3 separate regions of the Homo sapiens genome follow, and regions 1 and 3 are each linked to region 2. Evidence: promoter capture Hi-C in 16 types of primary human blood cells and fetal thymus (Javierre and others, 2016). All regions are on one chromosome and are shown on one strand. The core of a region is centred on a gene start or on the middle of the fragment in contact, and the rest is flanking DNA. Distances in the headings are between cores, read along the strand shown.

What was found. Contacts are between HindIII fragments. The CHiCAGO score rates a contact against its expected background, and 5 or more counts as called.
Region 1: a fragment that was not itself captured here is called in contact with the fragment with the promoter of LNCRNA-IUR in region 2 in 1 of 17 cell types (fetal thymus); the score reaches 7.0 in fetal thymus.
Region 3: a contact is called between a fragment that was not itself captured here and the fragment with the promoter of LNCRNA-IUR in region 2, in 17 of 17 cell types (neutrophils, monocytes, naive CD4 T cells and 14 more). The highest score is 12.6, in neutrophils.

The regions. Positions count from the first base shown.
Region 1 is chr11:94,614,473-94,617,197 of GRCh38, forward strand. It overlaps PIWIL4 (piwi like RNA-mediated gene silencing 4), which reads left to right. Exons shown (of 20, transcript NM_152431.3): 16 at 2,021-2,091. The region is part of intron 4 of PIWIL4-AS1 (PIWIL4 antisense RNA 1); the gene reads right to left. Among named protein-coding and RNA genes, the nearest start is that of LINC02700, 22 kb to the right of the region's middle. The HindIII fragment of the contact is 4,774 bases long and covers 1-2,725 here.
Region 2 is chr11:95,149,232-95,151,931 of GRCh38, forward strand. LNCRNA-IUR (lncRNA imatinib upregulated) reads left to right here and starts at 1,308. Exons shown (of 3, transcript NR_110303.1): 1 at 1,308-2,517. RefSeq lists enhancers at 1,094-1,635, 1,636-2,177, 1,778-1,907 and a silencer at 2,428-2,537. The HindIII fragment of the contact is 7,632 bases long and covers 1-2,700 here.
Region 3 is chr11:95,676,821-95,679,520 of GRCh38, forward strand. No RefSeq gene overlaps it. Among named protein-coding and RNA genes, the nearest start is that of FAM76B, 110 kb to the right of the region's middle. The HindIII fragment of the contact is 1,921 bases long and covers 361-2,281 here.

The DNA of each region.
Region 1 (2,725 bases), core at 204-2,703, 530 kb before region 2:
AATTTTGTGTATTTTTAGTAGAGTCAGGGTTTCACCATGTTGGGCAGGCTGGTCTTGAACTCCTGACTTCAGGTGATCCTCCCTCCTCGGCCTCTAAAAGTGCTGGGGTTACAGGCATGAACCACTGCACCCGGTCAGTTCCTGATTTTTCATGTTTCTTGAAGTTTTGCATTGCTGTCTTTGCATTTGAAGAATCAGTCATTTCTTCCAGTCTTTATTGGCTATCTTTGGGAGAGAAAAACCTTTAACAGTCAGCCCAGCTAGGGATTCTGAGGCTCTCTTACACGTTTTCTATTCATGTGCCCACTCCACACTTCTGGTTCTCACTTGGTGGGGGGATCCTTAAAATTGCATGCACTTTCTCAATCCCACAAAGCCAGGCCAGCTGTCAAGAGGCTCTCATCTGTTTTCCCTAGGGTGGTGCCCTGAAATGCTCATTTTGTGTACCTTCTCCAAATCCTGAAGAGTCAAGCTATCTGTTTGTGTGAAATGCTTGCACTCAACATCTGAACAAATGTGGTTGGGGAGCCAGCCTGGTCAGGGGTGGTGGTGAGATACATGTAGCATTTGGGGTGCCTGTGAGTCAGTTGAGGTGCTCCATAGGCAAGGTATCCTAAGAAACCCACAGGAGGGCCTCTTGATGAAGCTCATAGAGCAGTCAGTAGGGTTTGCAGCCACTCTTTCCTGCCCCCAGACTCTCCTAACCTCCCAGCTGTGCTGATAATCTTGTTGTTCTGGTTGAGGCAAGAAAAAAGTGGGCATCCTAGGCAGTATCCTGAATGGGTGAGGGAGCTGGGTACTCACTCACTACACTCTAATTTTCACCCTGTAAGAGAAATCATGGGCTGATGTGATCTGTCATGGCACTGAGCTGTGCCCTCCGTAGGGGAGGAGCAATGCAGGTAAAGTGAATCTCTTTGTGTTACCCTCTTTAATGCATCCATTCTCTGATGTTTTACTCCAGTGATGTGCTGGAACGTCACCATTGGAGTTAGTCTCATCCATGGGTAATTGTCAAAATTGATGCTTCTGGAAGGGAAATGATGGTAGAAAGCTCCTATTCTTCCACCTTGCTAATATCACTCAGGACTTCTAGTTTGTTGGCAGCATTCCTAATTGTGTTCTGTTTTTTTTGTTTTGTTGTTGTTTTTTACAAAAAAACAAAATGTTTAGAGATGGGGTCTTGCTTTGTTGCCCAGGCTGGAGTGCAGTGGCTATTCACAGGCACAGTGATAGCACAATACAGCCTTGAACTCATGGGCTCAAGCAGTCCTCCTACCTCAGCCTCCCAAGTAGCTGTGACTATAGGCACGCGCCACCACATGTAGCTGTATTACTGTTGTTGCATATATTTAGAGAGGTATAATAATGCTGGAACATACCTAACACAAAGTCATGATCTTCATTTCCAAGTGCTTTAAGTTAATTAATGGTGGTAGTAAGAGAACTTGTTTCTGAAATCTACACAATAATGTTAAGATTTCTAATCCAAAAGGATCACCTATAGAAATGAAAGTTTATGCTTCAGAAATCTTTGAATATTTTGACAGTAGAAGCTCTATTGCTAAATTAGTACATTAATTTATAACAATAATAGTGGCCTCTATTACTCTTTACTATATGCAAAGTACTATGCTAAATATTTTACAAATATCATGTGATTTAATTTTTACCACAACCCTATGAGGTAGTAACTAATCTACTTACCTTGTAAATCTCCTTGGTACAGATGAGGAAACTGAGACTTAGGTTCACATAGCAAAGTTACACAGCTGGTGAGTATATTGACTAGGATTTGAAGCTCGATATGGCTGATGCCAACACTATGTTTAGCTTCTGTTCTCAATAAATTCTTTTTGGGTAAAGGGTCTCTTTGATATAATTGTGAACACATAACACATACAAAATTGCGAACATTGATTTTTACTCATAATCTCTGTTTCTTAATTTAATATTAATGAATATTTATGGTAGAAAAATTGAAGTTGAATTTTACTTTTATTTTTTTTTTTAACTTTAGGTGGTTTTCCCGCTGTATCCTTCAGAGAACAATGACTGATGTTGCAGATTGCTTGAAAGTTTTCATGACTGGTACTAAAAATATAGCAATGTGGGTGGGCTCCAAGGACTGTTCCTTCAGACCTCAAATCCACATGCTTATAGAAGACCACATAGGTCAGAGCAAACTCTCTACACCTGTCTTTGTCAACTGTCACCCAGTTGAAGATCTCTGAAGCTGCATGCCGATTTAGGCCAACAATCAGACTATGTAGCATTTACATTTACATTTGTCTGTGTGTGATAACATGAAGCCAGAAGGAAGGAAAATTTGTGGCTGCTGGTTTCCCTGACAAGCAGTTTGAAGGTCAAAAGAAACCAACCCTGGAGGAACTCGAGTTATGACAGAGCAATGTTAAGTGTAGACCTAGGAGGGAAGCCTATAGGGCTAGGATAGGGGTGCTAACAGATAAAGTGGCAAAGCAAGAGAAGAAGGGAAAGACAGCAGATGAGGAAAGGTGCCCTATCCATAGCAGGATGCAATGCAAAGACAAATCTAAGGTTTCTGTTTCTTCACCACTCCTGGCCTAGGTCTGGCTTTGCTATTTCCTAGCAGTGTGACTTGTACAAACCCTTCCCTCTCCTGATCTGCATTTTCCCATCTGTAAATTTGGGAGTATTGTAAATATTTTTTCTTAAAAAATGAATTTGCTTATACATGTTGGTA
Region 2 (2,700 bases), core at 58-2,557:
GATGACAGTAGCATGCAGGAAGTTAGCAAAAAAGTGCTCAAGGGGAACACACGTGGGGAAGGGGAAAACTCAGGATTAGGCAAAGGAGAAGGTGGGCAGGTAGAACTAGAGCCAAGCAAATGCCAGCCAGCCTTTTTGGAGGGTTTGGGTGGATAACGGACAATGTCAAAAACAGCATTAATTTTCAATCCTGGGTGGTGGAAAGACTATATATATGTATGTATATATGTATGTATGTATGTATGTGTATGTGTGTATGTATGTGTGTATGTATGTGTGTGTATGTATGTATGTATGTATGTATATGTATGTGTGTATGTGTGTGTGTGTATGTATGTATGTATGTGTGTATGTATGTATGTGTAATTTCTCTATGTCAGACACTGCTGGGTTTGTGCTCCCCTCTATAATCTACTGATTGTGGGACTTCACACGAGGTACAAAACATAAGTGACCTAATAAGCCCTCTAGACAGGGCTTCAGGGAGGAGCCAAGGCTGGCACATAGTCAGAGGGCAGGAAAAGTTCCACTCCCTCCGTGTGATTAGGAGGGCTGCTTTGTTTTCTTCCCAGGCAGAGACCTCAAAGAAAAGTGTGACTTGTGGCAATCATTGGAATGCTCTAACGGGAGGGAGCCCTAAGCTAAGGGGAGGGGCTGTATCAGCCCCGGGAGGGCGAGGGACAAAGGGGCATTGTTTCCCTGGAGGGCAGGCTGGGGCAAGGCTGACTCCACTGCCGGCCTGGGCGTGGGCAGGTTTGCTCCCGGGAGGAGAAGGCCTCCATCCTGGCCCACAATAGCCAACCCAAAACAGTTCTGGCAAAATTAAAAGACGCAGGAAAATGCCAGCGACCGTTTATTTTCTCCTAGGGTAGATGGGGGAGAAAGCAGCTCCTTTTTCTGGGCTGAATGGAGTCTCAGGGAGGGGGCTAGGTGACAGCATCGCCCTTTCCTCTCCGGCTATTGCGCACCTTCTGGAGCCTCGCTCAGCCTGCTCCCTCCGGCGTAATACGCCAATGCTGCTACCCACAACGCACAGACCAGAAACCAGGATAGACAGAAGCCTAGAATGGCCTGGCATCGAGCAGGCCCAGCGCAAACGCAAGGTCTCTTCCTCTCCTTTCGGTGAACCCCACGCCCAGTCCCGAGAGAGAGAGCGGATGCTCATTTCCGAAAGCTGGCAATCCTGCAGTGGCCACTGGAAAAATACATATACGTGTGTGTGTGTGTGTGTGTGTGTGTGTGTGTGTGTGTGCGCGCGCGCGCACACAGTGCATATCGTGCCCATCTACAAGGAAACCTGGAGGCTCCACAAACAACTTTGAGTCCCGGGAGGGCGGAGGTGGAGAGAGATTCTCCGCTTGGATAAGGGCGGCTGGATAGCCGAGTACTCTCTTTTGGGGCTGTTGGCCGTCTCCGGAGTCTCGGGAGCGCCTTGATGTCCCTTCCCAGGGCTCGGGTTCCTTTGAGAGAATCAAGAGGAAGGTGTTTTTCACTAGGACTCGCGGTGGGCCCCACCTGCCTACCGTGGCCGGCCGGGAGCTATTACAGCAGGGTCTGCCCGTCCGACGACGGCGGCTCCAATCTGGGGTCCCGCCGGCGCCGACCCCTCAGCTCTCTCCCGATACCTGCTGGCCTCTCTCATCTTTGGTGGCACTCGCCGCCACGGGGACGGTGAGATCAAAGAGGTAGACCTAGGCCAGGAGGGACTGCCAGGGCTCCTTCCCGCGGGCCAGCCTCTCGTCCTTCCTCCCGGGACGGGGCTCTTTCCCTTTCTCCGGATGCGGGCCTTTGAGAGTCAGCGACGCCTTAGACTCCTCCCAGAAAAATGCACCCTCATCTACCCAATTCTGCCCTACCCTTTGGAGCTCCTGGACCCTCTAACCGCTCGGTGGGGTCAGAGCCCACCCCCGGAAGGGCCGCTGGTCGGGGACTGGTTCGCCCTCTCCTGGCCTCCTCGGACCAGTGCGCGGGGAGGATCCCGCTAACGCCGGGCGCCTGCAGACCTTGAGCGGCCTCGCCCTGGTGACCTCCCCGGGAAAGGCTGGGCGGTGCTTCCACAATGAGGGCCACCTGTTAATTTGCACGAGAAAGTGCTGCCGAGGGCCCACACGTGCGAATCCACCTGTGGAGTGCGTCCCCTCTCTGGGGCCAAGGCCTAGGGGAGGCCGAAGCGGAGAAGTTGCCTGAAGACTGGGAAGTAAGAGTAGGGGCGTCGGAGGAATCGAAGTTGCAGTGACATCAGGCTCGGACAGCCGGCGGACTCCTCGCAAGGTGATCGGATACTTCCGAGAGCCCCACAGTCCTCCTGGGCCTTTGCCCTCGCGTCTGGGATGCGCTCGGGCGCCCCCAGTCTGCGATGCGTTCGTACCTCCAGTAGGGTGACGTTTTCGCCGGGCCCCTCTGCGAACAGTCTCCGCCCTCCTCCACTGTGAGATATTTCACAGTTTCACCCGCAGAGGGCAACCTTATTCCAAGTTCCCGAGCGCCCTAGGCCTCTTTCTCCTCCCTGCCTAACTGGTGAGGTGGGACTTCAATGCCTTTTAGGTTTACAGTCTTTTCCTCCCCACGGCTTCTCTTTCCTCCCCGTCTCAGGCACTGGGCATTTCCAGTCGATCCAGCAGGTCTGGCTTCTCTCACATATGCAGTAAGGGTTAGGGGAGAAGGTCCCAGCTCCTCTTGTCTCTAGCAGAGTGTAAACTG
Region 3 (2,700 bases), core at 71-2,570, 530 kb after region 2:
GAAGAGTTTACAGAGGCCTTGAGATAGGAGAGAGTTTAATGCTCAAGAAATTGAATATTTTCAACAAAGATGCCGAAAACACACCATAAGGAAAGGACAGTCTCTTCAATAAATGGTGCAGAGAAACGTGGATATCCACGTGCAGAAGAATAAAATTAGACTCTTAACTCACACTATCTACAAAAATCAACTGAAAATGAATGAAAGACTTAAATGTAAGACCTGAAGGTGTAAACTGCTAGAAGGCAACAGAGAAAAAGCTCCATGATCTTGGTCTGGGGGATGATTTTTTTGGATTTCACCCCAAAAGCCCAGGCAATAAAAGCAAAATTAGACAAAGGGGATTGCATCAAACTAAAAAGCTTCTGCTCAACACAGTGAAGATACAACCAACAAAATACAAAAGTATATTTGCAAATCATACATCTGATAAGGGGTTAATATTCACAATATATAAGAAATATATCTTACAACTCAATAGTAAAAAAAAACCCAATTAAAAATGGGCAAAGGACCTGAATAGACATTTCTCAAAAGAAGACATGCAAAGGGCCAACAAGTATGTGAAAATATGTTCAACATCACTAATCATCAGGGAAATGCAAATTAAAACCACAAAGGTATGTTATTTCACACCTGTTATAATGGCTGCTGTCAAAAAGACAAAAGATAACAAGTGTTGGTGATGATGTAGAGAAAAGGAACCTCTTGTACACTGTTGGTGAGAATGTAAATTAGTACAACTATTATGGAAAATGATATGGAGATTCCCCAAAAAATTAAGAATAGAACTACCATATGATCCAGCAATCTCACTTCTGGGTATATATTCAAAGGATATTAAATCAATGTCTTGAAGTACTATCAGCACTCCCGTGTTTATCACAGCACTATTCACAATAGCCAAGATATGGAATCAACCTAAGTGTCCATCAACAGATGAACGGATAAAGAAAATGTGGTATATGTACACAGTGGAATAATAGCCTTAAAAAACAAAGAAATTCTGTCATTTGTGACAACATGGATGAATCTGGTGGACATTAAAAAGTGAAATAAACCAGGCATAAAAAGACAAAAATACTGCATGATCTTACTTATATGTGGAATCTTAAAAAGTCACTCTCATGGAAACAGAGAGAAAATTGTGGTTATCAGAGGCCATAAGGTGGGGGACTGGGGAGATGCTGGTCAAAGAACACAAAATTTCAGTTAGGGGGAATAAGTTCAAGAGATATATTGTACATCATGATGACTGTAGTTAACAGCAATATGCAGTGTACTTGAAAATTGCTAGTACAGTAGAGTTTAAGTGCTCTCACCAAACAAAAAAGATAAGTATGTGAGGTATCATGCGTATGATAAATGGCTGATTTAATCTTTCCACAATGTGTGCATGGGTGTGTATATACATACATATAAATATACATATACACCCACACACACATATCACATTGTATGCCATAAAAATGTACAATTTTTACTTCTTAGTTTTTTTTAAGAAAAGCCATAAGTAAGAAAGTCACATGAAAGAAACATAAATGATCAATAAATATATAGGGAAAAAAAGACCAGTGTTGCTATGTGGCATGAAATAGAGTTGAATAACTCAGTAATCTTATATACAGACTCAAAAACACTTGTTTACAGTGGTTTCTAAATAATTTTCTCAGCCCTAAAAATTATATATAGGCTTTTATCACACTTTTCCTAATTTCTCAACTATTAACATCTTAGTTTAGCTAATATTTAGAAATTTTTAGATTGCCATGTGAACAGTGATTCTGGTAAAGAAAATAGTCATTTAGGGAAAACCTCATTTTAGTCTGTACACAAAATAAAGCTCAGCCAGACCCTTTTCCAACACCCCTTGTTTCTCATTAGTTTTCCAACTGAAGACATTGTTAATTCAAATAGTCAATTAGCCAGATCCTCTAATGACTCCCCTTCCATTAAGATCTGCCTGACTGCGTTATATCACCAGTGAATGGCCAGCCCCAGAATGTCACTGAAGAGTCCCATGGAATTCAGTATTTTAAAATCAGTGGCATTGGACAAGGACTCAGAGGACTTGACTTCCCTCAGTCTTTCTTTAAAGAAGGCCTTTGGCTTGGGCCTCAGTCCCTTCACTTCATCTTTCTGTAGAAGGGGCAGAGCTAGAAAACTATAGGGTCCACCCCAGCTCTGATAGTTTTTGAAGCTGGGTGGTAACCATCAACCTTACTAGACAATATCTGGTCTCCTTAAAATAAAATATCTCATTCTAGACCACTCTGACTCAAGCTTTTAGAATAAGCCTCTCTCTATCCTGTTCACTGTTGGCATTATTTCCTCACCATTCTTGGTTCTTTACTGGGAAACAGCAAAGAGGACTTTGGCCCTCAGGAGACACAACACTCACTCGGTCTAGTTTGAGGGAGTGTGTCACTCATGAACATCAGTTACTTGACGTGATGGTTAATTTTACGTGTCAACTTGCCTAGGCCATTGTACTCAGACATTTGGTCAAACACAAGTCTAAATGCTTTTCGTTAAGCTACTTTTAGATGAGATTTAAGTCAATTACACATTTAAATCAGTAAACTTTGAGTAAGGCCGATTACCTTCTATAACATGAATGGGCCTCATCTGATCAGTTGATGGCCTTAAGAATAAACAGACAGAGATCCCAAAGGAAGAGGGAATTCTGCCCCAACCACC